Regions from separate parts of the Homo sapiens genome. Here region 1 is linked to region 2. Evidence: promoter capture Hi-C in human tissues and cell types (Jung and others, 2019). All regions are on one chromosome and are shown on one strand. The core of a region is centred on a gene start or on the middle of the fragment in contact, and the rest is flanking DNA. Distances in the headings are between cores, read along the strand shown. Region 1 has its middle 8.4 kb from the start of CRYGD. Region 2 holds the start of C2orf80 (chromosome 2 open reading frame 80).

What was found. The method cuts DNA at HindIII sites, captures the fragments that hold promoters and counts their contacts. A contact is called where the count stands out against the background at its distance.
Region 1: a contact is called between a fragment that was not itself captured here and the fragment with the promoter of C2orf80 in region 2, in 3 of the 25 tissues and cell types used here (bladder, mesendoderm cells and sigmoid colon).

Annotation. Positions count from the first base shown.
Region 1 is chr2:208,113,360-208,118,970 of GRCh38, reverse strand. No RefSeq gene overlaps it. Among named protein-coding and RNA genes, the nearest start is that of CRYGD, 8.4 kb to the left of the region's middle. The HindIII fragment of the contact is 3,861 bases long and covers 1,986-5,611 here.
Region 2 is chr2:208,185,421-208,191,795 of GRCh38, reverse strand. C2orf80 (chromosome 2 open reading frame 80) reads left to right here and starts at 1,766. Exons shown (of 9, transcript NM_001099334.3): 1 at 1,766-1,843; 2 at 4,735-4,850. The coding sequence starts at 4,810. The HindIII fragment of the contact is 5,855 bases long and covers 1-4,734 here.

The sequences.
Region 1 (5,611 bases), core at 2,667-5,166, 75 kb after region 2:
GAGAACCTTAAAATATTATCCCATTCTTGAGTGTGACCTTTGGTGTTATAGGGAAATCAGAACGAACTGAATAAAGGGAGAAAGAAGGATGAAGTCCAAGGAGGAAAGGGTACAAATAGAGAAAAAAATTGTTTAAGATGTCAATTATATTCAATAATCTTTTATTTCTCTTTATAAAGTAAGAGAACTGTAAGGTTTGTTTTTGTTTTTGTTTTTGTTTTTGAGACGGAGTCTTGCTCTGCCGCCCAAGCTGGAGTGCAGTGGCGCAATCTCTGCTCACTGCAAGCTCCGCCTCCTGGGTTCACGCCATTCTCCTGCCTCAGCCTCCCGAGTAGCTGGGACTACAGGCACCGACCACCACGCCCGGCTAATTTTATTTTGTATTTTTAGTAGAGACAGGGTTTCACTGTGTTAGCCAGGTTTGTCTTGATCTCTTGACCTCGTGATCCGCTCACCTCGGCCCCCCAAAGTGCTGGGATTACAAGCGTGAGCCACCACGCCTGGCCAGAATTTTTTTTTTTTTTTTTTTTTTTTGAGATAGAGAGGACAACAGGTAGGGAGTGCAGTGGTGCAATCTCAGCTCACCGCAACCTCCGTCTCCTGGGTTCAAGATTCTCCTGCCTCAGCCTCCCCAGTAGCTGGAATAACAGGCATATGCTGCCACGCCCAGCTAATTTTTGTATTTTTAGTTAGAGATGAGGTTTCACCATGTTGACCAGGCTGGTCTCGAACTCCTGACCTCAAGTGACCCACCTGCCTCGGCCTCCCAAAGTGCTGGGATTACAGATGTGAGCCACTGTGCCCGGCTGACTATAAGAAATTTAAAGTAAACTTTGTTTTAGACACTCTTTAACTCGTTTATAATCCATGGAATTCATCCTGTCTTGGGAGGCAATTCAGATGGTACCAAATATTGGCAAACATTTACACTTCTTCAGTCCTTTGTGATAATGAGGAGTTGAATGTCACAAGAATAGCAGAGGGAGAAATATGAACTAACTTTTGAGCATACTTCTAGGAATCTATCTAAGAAACAAATCCTAAACATGAAAAAAAGTGTTATGCACAAACTACTCACTCAATATTTATTATAATAAAACTGTAGCAGGACTAGCCACAGACAAAACCCCTCAGACACCAAGTTAAAGAAGGAAAGGCTTTATTCAGCCAGGAGCTTCAGCAAGACTCACGTCTCCAAAAACCGAGCTCCCCGAGTGAGCAACTCCTGTCCCATTTAAGGGCTTAAAACTCTAAGGGGGTCTGCTTGAGAGGGTCGTGATGGATTGAGCAAGCAGGCAGTACATGACTGGGGGCTGCATGCACTGGTAATCAGAATGGAACAGAACAGGACAGGGATTTTCACAATGTTTTTCCATACAATGTCTGGAATCTATAGATAACAGAACCGGTTAGGTCAGGGGTCGATCTTTAACCAGGCCCAGGGCGTGGCGCCGGGCTGTCTGCCTGTGGATTTCATTTCTGCCTTTTAGTTTTTACTTATTCTTTCTTTGGGGGCAGAAATTGGGCATAGGACAATATGAGGGGTGGTCTCGTCCCTTATTTCCCCGCTTTGAGAACCTCACTCATTAGTGGCAGTGTCACTTTTATTTTCATTACCTGTGTCTTCTTGCAAGACAGATCGATAGTGATTCATATAGTACACTTGTGCTGAAGCATTTTGGTGAACTAAGGTAGTGATGAAGCTTTTTATCATTTGAAGAAGTACAGGTAACAAACAAGGGAGCAGTAAGCACGTTCCTATTACTATCACAACTCCTATTATAAGAGTTTCAAATTCTCCTAGTGCCGAGAACCATTTTTCAAACATGGCCCCAGGATCAAATCCATGCCACACTTGCACAGGCACATGTGCCAGTTTTGTCATATCTCTATGTCTTCAACTACCTTCCCTTGATCATCTGTGTGTACACAGCAATTAGTAAGGTAAATTTCCCACAGACCCCTCCTTTAGCTGCTAGCAAGTAGTCGAGAGCCAATCTATTTTGATAGACAGCATTTCTCATCCGAGTTTCTTGCCAGGCCACAATAGTCAAGGCTCTGTCAGTCTTATTAATGATTATTTCTAAGACAGCTTGTAACCGTATGATTCAATTGAGCATGTAAATGGGGGTCTGGTATCCCCACGAGCTGTCTTGTGCCCAAGTAGCAGTTATGTTCAGCTGGGCTCTCTGATACCAGGAGCAAGGTGGTGGGGTTTAGGGTGTTGCAAACTTCAATGGTTATGTGGGGATTTTCACATAGGAAGCTTTGGCACTTGGTTAATCTAGCATTTGCTAGCCAATGATGTCCTTTGGTATTCATCAAAGTTACCACAGCATGGAGGGGCCTTTATATTCAGGTTTTGCCCAAGAGTTAGTTTATCTGCTTCTTGTGCTAACAGGGCCGTTGCTGCCAGGGCCCTTAGACATGGGGGCCAGCCTTTGGAAACCCTGTCCAGTTGTTTTGAGAGATAGGCCACTGACCTTGGCCAGGGCCCCACAGTCTGGGTTAAAACTCCAACTGCCATTTTTTCTCTTTCTGTCACATAGAGTGTAAAGGGTTTTGCCAGTTCAGGTAGCCCCAGGGCTGGGGCCAACATGAGTTTTTTCTTTTAACTCATGAAAAGCTCATTGCTGTTGGTTGTAATAGATGTAGTTTATCCAATCTACATTTTTATTAACCGTCACCCACCAAAATATTGACTCAAATCCTGCAGCTATTTGATTTTAAGCTTTAAATTGATCTGGTATTCCCCGTGGGACTTCAATTGCTTCTAAATAGACGTGAGAGTCGAAAGACCCATAAGGGGCTTTTCTCGCTTTACAATGTCTTATTTTTCCTCCCTCTGGTTGACAAAATCCCAGGGCGAAAGGCAAGCCAATTGGACTGAAGTACAAGTGCCACTCCAGTTATTCGGCCACAATACCACCACACATCCGCTCGGGGATGAACGAGGGCTGACTGATTGATAAGCTCTTGAAAATTCTTAAGCTCACTGCATCCCTTCAGGTCTCCAAGGAACTCTAAGTTTCCTCCCTGTTGTGAGAGTCATGAAGTGAACTTAGTGTTGGGAGACGGAAACTGGATGGCCCTTGGGGGCTGACCTGCAGGGTGCTGGACTTTGGGATATAGCAGAGAGAGCTTGGCACAACTTATTACTCCAGGCTGTAGAATCCTGGAAAAGAGCTACCATGCAGTCCACGCCTGGGCGACTGGAGGACCACCTTAGTGGAAAGGGGACAATCTGGGCCTCTGACCTGCCCTGCGCACAAGCATAACAATTGCTTTTGTTTAACGTGCTGATGGAATATTTGATCCATTCCAACCAGGTATTTGCATCTTGGTATCCTGTCTTAATTGACAAAGTTTGTTTTAAGTCTTTAACTTTTATGATCCTCTAGTAAAATGAACATATGATTTTAGGAAATTACAAAAACCGGTCGGGGCAGTCCATCCTTGCTCTTTAGTGGTCCACAGAATGTTGGACAAACTGCGGCATAAAAGCTCTACATTGAGGGGCAAGACTCCTGGTTGACACTGGAGTCTTTAATCAAAATTTCCCCAGATTAAATGGTCCTAATTTACTAATGCCCAGTCTGAGGAGAGTCAGGAGGGACAGAGGTACTTTTCTGAAGTAGAGAGCTGTCTTTGACTTGGCAAGTCCCCACAGGGTATACCCACAGGGTATAACAAGGAAAGCATTAAATGCAATAGTTTGAGGTGAAATTGACTTGGTTATGGTAATAACTAGATGGTCAGTAATAGAGCGAGAAAAGAAGAAAGAGTAATAGAATAGATGAAAAAGTTAAATTTTTCTTAGCTTAGTTTGGTAGGGTTTTCCCCTGGGACTATGGCCCACGACTCTGGAGAGGGTGGCACTTTCTTGACTCGGTTGTGATGAGTCCATCCTTTTTTCGCTGTACGAACAGAAGTCTCGGTGGTTAGCAGCACAAGGGTCCTTCGTAGGCTGGTTCGAGTTTCCTTTTTTTTCACCCTTTGATGAGAACGTGATCTTCAGGCTGGTGCTGGTTTACCAGAAATTCTAGGGGTGGTACATGTGCTAAAAGACTTTTAGTTTTGAGGGAAACTCTGTATTCATTAAACCATAACTCCCCAATCCTACCTCCCCCAATCCCTGGTAACTGCCATTCCACTTCCTGTCTTTACGAAACTGACTATTCTAGGTACCTCAAATAAACGGAATCATACAATATTTGTTCCTCTGTGTCTGATTTATTTCCCTTCACATGTTTTCAAGGTTCTTCCATATGTGCCATGTGTCAGCATTCCTTATTAGGAATAAGGAATAAGGAACTTCCAACTTTGTTTTTTGCAAGACTAATTTGTTGATTTGGGGTCCCTTGAGATTCCAGATGAATTTTAGGATAGATTTTTCTCTTTCTGCATAAGGAAATCATTGAGATTTGATAGGGATTGCACTAAATCTGCAGATTGCTTTGAGTAGTACTGATGTATTAACAATATTGTCTTCCAATCCATTAACATAGGATGTGTTTCCACTTATTTATGTCTTCTTTAATTTCTTTCAATATTTTGTAATTTTCAGAGTATAATATACTTGTTTTTTTTTTTAACTTGACATATGGTAAGCATTTTCCATACCCTTAAATAAATTCTTTGACAACATGATTTTTGGTAGCTGCATAGCATCTCATCAAACAAGTGTTCCATGATTTATTTAAACAATGCCCTATTCTGGACATTTTATTTGTATCTAATTTTCTATATTATAAACACCATTCTGATAAAATATCACTGTTCATAATCTTTGTATGCATCTTTAATTTTTTCCATTGGACAAATTCCTAGAGATGGAAATATTAGATCACAGGTGTGAGAATTAGGAGTTTTTAAATATACATCAACAGTGCTACTTTTTATACAAAACTACGGCTTAAAATCTTTTCTCCTTTCTACTGCTTTATAGTTTCTAAATTTTCCACAAAAGTTATAATTTTTAAAAGAGAAATATGTAAATGAGGCTTATTAAACTTACGTGGATCACATAAAATTTGTCCAGAGAAAGCTATTTTTTAGTATTAGACTTAGGTAGCAAGAATCCAAACTAAGGAGTGAGACTGGGTGCACCAAAGTTATTCTAAATCAGTGGTTCTTAGTGCGGATGGGGAGTGGATTTGCTTTCCAGGGAACCTTTGGCAATGTCTGCAGACAGTTCTGCTTGTCACGACCGGACAGTAATGCTACCGGTACCCAGATGGTAGAGGCCAGGATGCTGCTCAATGTCCTGCAATGCACAGGACAGCCTCCCCACCCAGCAGATAATTTTTTGGGCCCCAAATGTCAAAAGAGTGCTGCGGTTGAGAAACCTTGCTCTAAAGAGAGTGGAACACCAGGAGGGACAGGGTCCCGGCAAAAGGAAGGAAGACCCCAGTCCCTGGAGTCAGAGCCTTAACTAGAGAGCCACGAGGGTTTTGCCCCAGGGTGAAGAAGGCAGAATCTTTGCAAGATTGCAGGATCTTCAATGTGTTATATTTGCATGTTAACTTGCATTTGTCAGCAGCTAGAACCAACTAAGCTTAGCCTTTAGTTAGCAAAGTTGTTAAATAGAAAGTTACCAGTGTAATAACCG
Region 2 (6,375 bases), core at 517-3,016:
TTAGCCGGGCGTGGTGGCGCATGCCTGTAATCCCAGCTACTCCAGAGGCTGAGGCAGGAGAATCGCTTGAATCCGGGAGGCGGAGGTTGTGGTGAGCCAAGATCACACCATTGCACTCCAGCCTGGGCAACAAGAGCAAAACTCCATCTCAAAAAAATGAATAAATAAATAAATAAATAAAAGTAAACAGTCATAGTAGAGGAGAGACTGAATTATTTTTTAATTCTCTCTATAGAAAATACTATGAAACCTTGGTCCTATTAACAGATAATCAAAGAGTATGTAAGAAAAAAAGGAATTTTAGTGTATGTTAGGCAGTTAGTAATCATGAAAATATTAATACTGATTTTTTGTTTGTGGTATTTTTCAGCTCTTTAAAATTTGTAACTTGTAATTAATAGTTCTAAATAAACATACAATTTTGTATTAGTTTCATATTTACAATTCTGCATTCTTTTTATTAAAGACGGTCCCCATAATGTATAAACTTCAGGCTCACCAAACCCGGAAGTGTCTAGGTACAATATAAACTCAATATGGAGTGAACAACTAGTTTAGAAAATTCTATATCTAGGGTTTTGTTAGTGTCTTTCATAATATGACCTCAGGTAATCAAGTGACTTACTTGGCCAGTGGAAAGGAGTGGAAATAAAGATTAAGAGGTGTCAATAACAGACACCCAGCCGTAGATGGGCCAGAAGAACAAACTCTGCCCCTAGTCTAGTGGTATAGAGGAGACACAGACAGAAACCATTAACAAGCTTTAAGCAAGGGAGCAAGTGTTTAAGACTAGGAGGCAGGCGTGTGGGCAGGGATTGTCAGGCCTCTGAGCCCAAGCCAAGCCATCACATCCCCTGTGACTTGCACATATACATCCAGATGGCCTAAAGTAACTGAAGATCCACAAAAGAAGTAAAAATAGTCTTAAGTGATGACATTCCACCATTGTGATTTGTTTCTTCCCCACCCTAACTGATCAATGTGCTTTGTAATCTCCCCCCGCTTAAGCAGGTACTTTGTAATCTCCCCCACCTTTAAGAAGGTTCTTTGTAATTCTCCCCACCCTTGAGCATGTAGTTTGTGAGATCCACCCCCTGCCCACAAAACATTGCTCCTAACTCCACCGCCTATCCCAAAACCTATAAGAACTAATGATAATCCACCACCCTTTGCTGACTCTCTTTTCGGACTCAGCCCGCCTGCACCCAGTTGAAATAAACAGCCATGTTGCTCACACAAAGCCTGTTTGGTGGTCTCTTCACACAGACGCACATGAAAGGGATCTCATCTATAATTAGAAAGATGGTGCTAGCTTGAACCCAGGTGATGTTTCTTCAGGATTGCCACTGTTTTGTATTGACATTCATCGAGTAGAATGATCTTTGGGTCATTGGGTACTTTGGGGCACCCTAACTATGTAGGAGCCAGAGTTTCACTAGCTTCCCCAGCAATCCTTGCTTAGTCAATTGATTCCTATGTCTGCAGCCAAATGCTATAAAAAACTCTGGGGAAGGTAAACTCCTCCCATCCTCTTGGTTTTTCAATTAATCATTTAGATGGGAAACATAAGCCTACTCAGGTAAAAAGACACGTGAACTTCAGGCCAGGATCACAATCCTGTCCCAAATATATGACTTTCCACCCTCCCTCAACCCTTAATGGGGGTGGGCGTAGGGGAGTGTATTTTTAAAACAAATGATTTTAATTCATTCACTGTTTCCTAGCAACCAGGAAAAAGCATGTGTTCCTGATGTCTGTGAGCACCAGTCTGAGATGCGCGGATGCTTCAGCATGCCTCCAGAAGCAGAGAAAGAACAAAAGCACTGGAACCGGTCTCCGGTTGGTGAGCGATTCTCAAAGGGGAATTTGTTAAGAGCAGGCACTTAATAGAACAGCCCGAGAGACCTGTACCACGATTGCAGGTGTGCAGCAGGGAACCTGCATGGAATGTGCAGATATTCTCCAGGAAATGATATTCCTATAGAATTTGGGGGCTCTGACTTCTAGGGAATTGTTTCTATGAAACAGCTAAAGCCTGAGACAGCTGACATCTTTCCAGTACCTCTTTTGTGTGTGCTTTCAGCCACACACAAAACACACAGCGGTCTTGTTTTCTTTAGAGCTCTATAGACAGAGAAGAGGGATAACTGGCAGAATTCAAATCTAGCTGAATTAGAATCCATGCAAATGGCCTTCTTTAGACCAGGCGTAGCTACTAAATGCATATAAATCACTGACTTCCACAGCTGTAAGGGACCTCTCCAATCATTCAACGCTTGTTTTACAGAGGAAGAAATGAAAAAACATAGGCAAATTAATTTGTTCAAGGTGCACAGCTAGTTGGTGGCCTCACAGGGTCTTCTGACCTACAGTTTAGTGGTTTGGGAGTGGGACATACTCATATTTTAAAGACTGAAACCTTTGCATATTATACCATATTGAATGGTGGTGGTGGGGGCAGGGGATGGGGAGGATGAGGGATGATCTAAGACGAAGCTGTCATAACAACGAAGCAATGCAAATATTATAACTTGTAAATCTGAAACTCAAAGGGCTTTCTCAGAATTACAAGACAAGAATGGATTAAAGCACATGCTAACTGTGCCTTACTCCCTGCCAAGGAATTGAGATAGGCCAAATAGTCTAGCAACAAATGTTTTTCCAAACTATTGAATCAGAAGAATTTTAATGCATGCCAGACTTTATAGAGTTACAGAATGTTAGGGTAAGAAGTGCTCTTGGCAATGTTAACCAGGCCCATCTTTTTCGGATAACACCTGAGGCTGGGAAGCAGAAGACGCACAGCCACATCAATGAGTGTGGCTTTCCTGGGTCCAGTGCTCTCTCTTCTCTAGGCAATAGGGCCACCTCTATGGCTTGCTGCATCCTCTCCCCATTGACTCTGTAGGGAGCAATATTATTGTCTTGATACTTAATCAATTTCCTGTGAAATGCTCTTACTTTCTTCCCCACTTTCATCTTATCCACATCCCGTCCACTCCCCAAAAACTAAAGCAGATGTAGCAGCAGCAAGAATGATCCAAAATGGCTGGGCACGGTGGCTCACGCCTGTAATCCCAGCACTTTGGGAGGCTGAGGCAGGTGGATTACAAGGTCAGGAGATGGAGACCATCCTGGCCAATATGATGACACCACCCGGTCTCTACTAAAAGTACAAAACAATTAGCTGGGCTTGGTGGCGTGCACCTGTAGTCCCAGCTACTTGGGAGGCTGAGGCAGGAGAATCACTTGAACCCAGGAGGCAGAGGTTGCAGTGAACCGAAATTGTGCCACTGCACTCCAGCCTGGTGACAGACCGAGACTCCGTCTCAAAAAAAAAAAAAAAATCCAAAATAATGAAGGTGGCCTAGGGAAGCATTCATTTAGATCAGCGCCATCCTGTTGGCTCTCTGCTTACTGTTGGTAGAGCTGAATCAAGTGAAGCTTAGTGTTTATATGGTACCATTTTCAAAAAACCGTTTCTAAAGTTTGTTTTCCAATCATCTTTAGAGTAGTGATTTAAATATACGTACAATTTTAAAAGTACAAAGGGTAGTATAATGAACATCCATGGACTTAGAATTCCAGAGTCAACAACTATTAACATTTTGTTATATTTGAGTATTAGGGTTCCTCAGAGAAATTGAACTGACAGGATGTGTGTGGATACACACACACACACACACACACACACACACACACACACACACGGTGCAGTATAGGCTTAACCATCTCTTTCAAATATTTTGATTTTACAGAATTGGCTCACATGATTGTGGAGTCTTGGCCAGTCCAAAATCTGATAGAGGAGGCCAGCTGCCAGCAGACTCAGGGAAGAGTTGCAGTTTGAATCCAAAGGCTGCCTACTGGCAGATTCCTTCTTGCATGGGGGAGGTCAGTCTTTTGTTCTATCAAGGCTTTCGACTGATTGGAAAAGGCTCACTCAGATAGAGGGCAATCTGCTTTCAAAGTCCACTGATTTAAATGATAATCTCATTAAAAAAAAAACACCAGAAACATCCGGGATAAAGTTTGAACAACTATTTGATCATAGAGGCCCAACCATAAAATAAATTTAAAAATAAATAAAACATCACAAATAGAGTTGATACCCTATTTATACCTCTCCCTGTGTACCCCATTCAATAGTGATGATTTTCTATAGACTCCTTTTTGGTGACTTCAGACTCCTTTTGACCCCATCACCTGATCTTCAATTTCTGGTTCAATGTGGGGGTGGGAATTGAAGACATATTTCCCATAACCATATTTTCTTTCAAGGATCTCCTGGCAATAGGAGAGTGTAGATGGATTCTATGGAAAACTCCATTATGAGCCACTGAGCCAGGGTGAACTCACTGGGAGTTGAATGCTCACAGAAAAACCCAAACACATTCAGATCTAGATGGATCACATCCATCTAGTTTGGATGGTTCTGCCCGAATAGTCTCATCAGCTATTACACAAACCATTTTGGTTTTACTTGCTAGATTATTGCAAGGAAGAGTAAATTAAGTAAATAAGTGTTGGAAAAATTTGGAAGGAATAAAAGGTGTCAAATAAACACAAAAGTACAGTGCATGAGCCTCCAGGTGGCTTTTTGACCCTGAACCTGCCGAGTAAGAGGCCTGAATGAGGTGCTCCCTCAGATCCCTTCCAGAGCCTAGGACTCCATGACTGGTATTTGGAGTGATAGCATCCCTAACTCATATTCTCTCTGATTTGCTGCTGTAGCCTCTAGACTCAGAGAAGCTGGGTCTAAGTGTAGTGTTAGCTGCAGATACCTGCTCAGCTGGCTAAGCCTTTAACATGGAAAGAAGGCTCATAAAGAAGGAAATGAAAAAGCTCTTGTAAGTATGACTGAGAATAACTTTCATTTATGACACTTGGCATTCGGTGGATTTCATGTCATAGATGGCTTGGGTATTGGCAGTGGGTAAAAATCTAAGAATCTATTTCTGCATGGTAGGAGAAAACCAGAGGATGATCTGGCCTCTCTCGGTTTCCTGCCAGGGAGGCCTCACCTGTGGTGCGAGGCAGGATGCTGAAACACTTGGGAGGATGTTTCTGCTGGCAGCCTGCACATCCGAGGCATCCACATTCTAGAGCCTGAGAGCTGAGCCTATGTCCCAGTCAGCCTGTGTAGGCAAGATACACCGTTGAAAGGGGCTGGCCCTGCTGGTAAAAGGTATAAGAGAGATTCCTGAAAGGGCCCAGAATCTAAATTGCAGCCTCTGCTCTGCCTCTTTTATTGTCAGCCTTATCAACTAAGAAATTCATCTCCTTTTTCTTTACATCTGAACATTTTTAAAACGAACACAGAAAACATCAAGTTTCCTGTGAAAGAAATGTTTTCCTCCCATGGCAGTGTTTCTTTGACTTGTACTTAACAAATGTTGGTGAAAGATCACAAACCATATAAAAAGAAAAAAGAAAGATTATGTTCTATGTCATATGTGTTATAGACAAAACAGTAATAGCCTTTTCATCAAAGAGCTTATCACCATCCCCATCAAATATCTTTTCTCGGCCTCCTAAGATAATTTTATTTTAACAAGCCTTTAAGAAATACTAGAAGAAACTATGAATATACATATATGTACATATATACATGTATACACATATATGTGAATTCATATATAGTACACGTGTACACATATATGTGTATGCACATATATGTGAATTCATATTCATCTCTTGCTTTTAAGCAGAGATTATATTGGCATCAGACTTCAGGAAAATGAATTTGACCCAAAAGGAAGAAGGGAACTTACCTTTCTAGATGATATGGTAAAGAAAGACATGCTGATGCGAGTCATATTTGTGTTATATGTTAGAGGCCAATAGAATAGTAAAGAACAAACCATGATCAGGAATGCCAACTCTTCCACATATCTCATCCAAATAATTGGAATTTCAAAAGTGATATAAATACAAGTTTATATCCAAAGAATACATTTAGGCTACTTTAAAGTATCCTGAAATTTCGGCAGAAATTTAAGAATTTTTATCAATCTAGTTAAGCTTAATGACTCAGAAGAAAAGCTTTCAGAAGCCAGAAATAAACTTATTCTCCACCTTATGTAAAATTGAGATGTGCCAAAATCAACCTGGGAGATGCCATAGTCCTTCTTTTCCTGCACCTATTTTTTCTCTGTCACATTCCCGGGGTAGCACCTTTCTCTCTTCTCTCCTCATGGTGCTTATTTTACCTTCTTTTATTAAAAGTCACTGTTAGGAAAGGATCCACTAAGGATAAACTAAAGTGGAATCACTAATAAGTTTTTATGCATTCCTCCTCCTAAGGGTATTTGCATTCTAAAGAGAAAAAGCCTTACGGCAAAAGAATACTTACCTACAGAATTTTATATATCT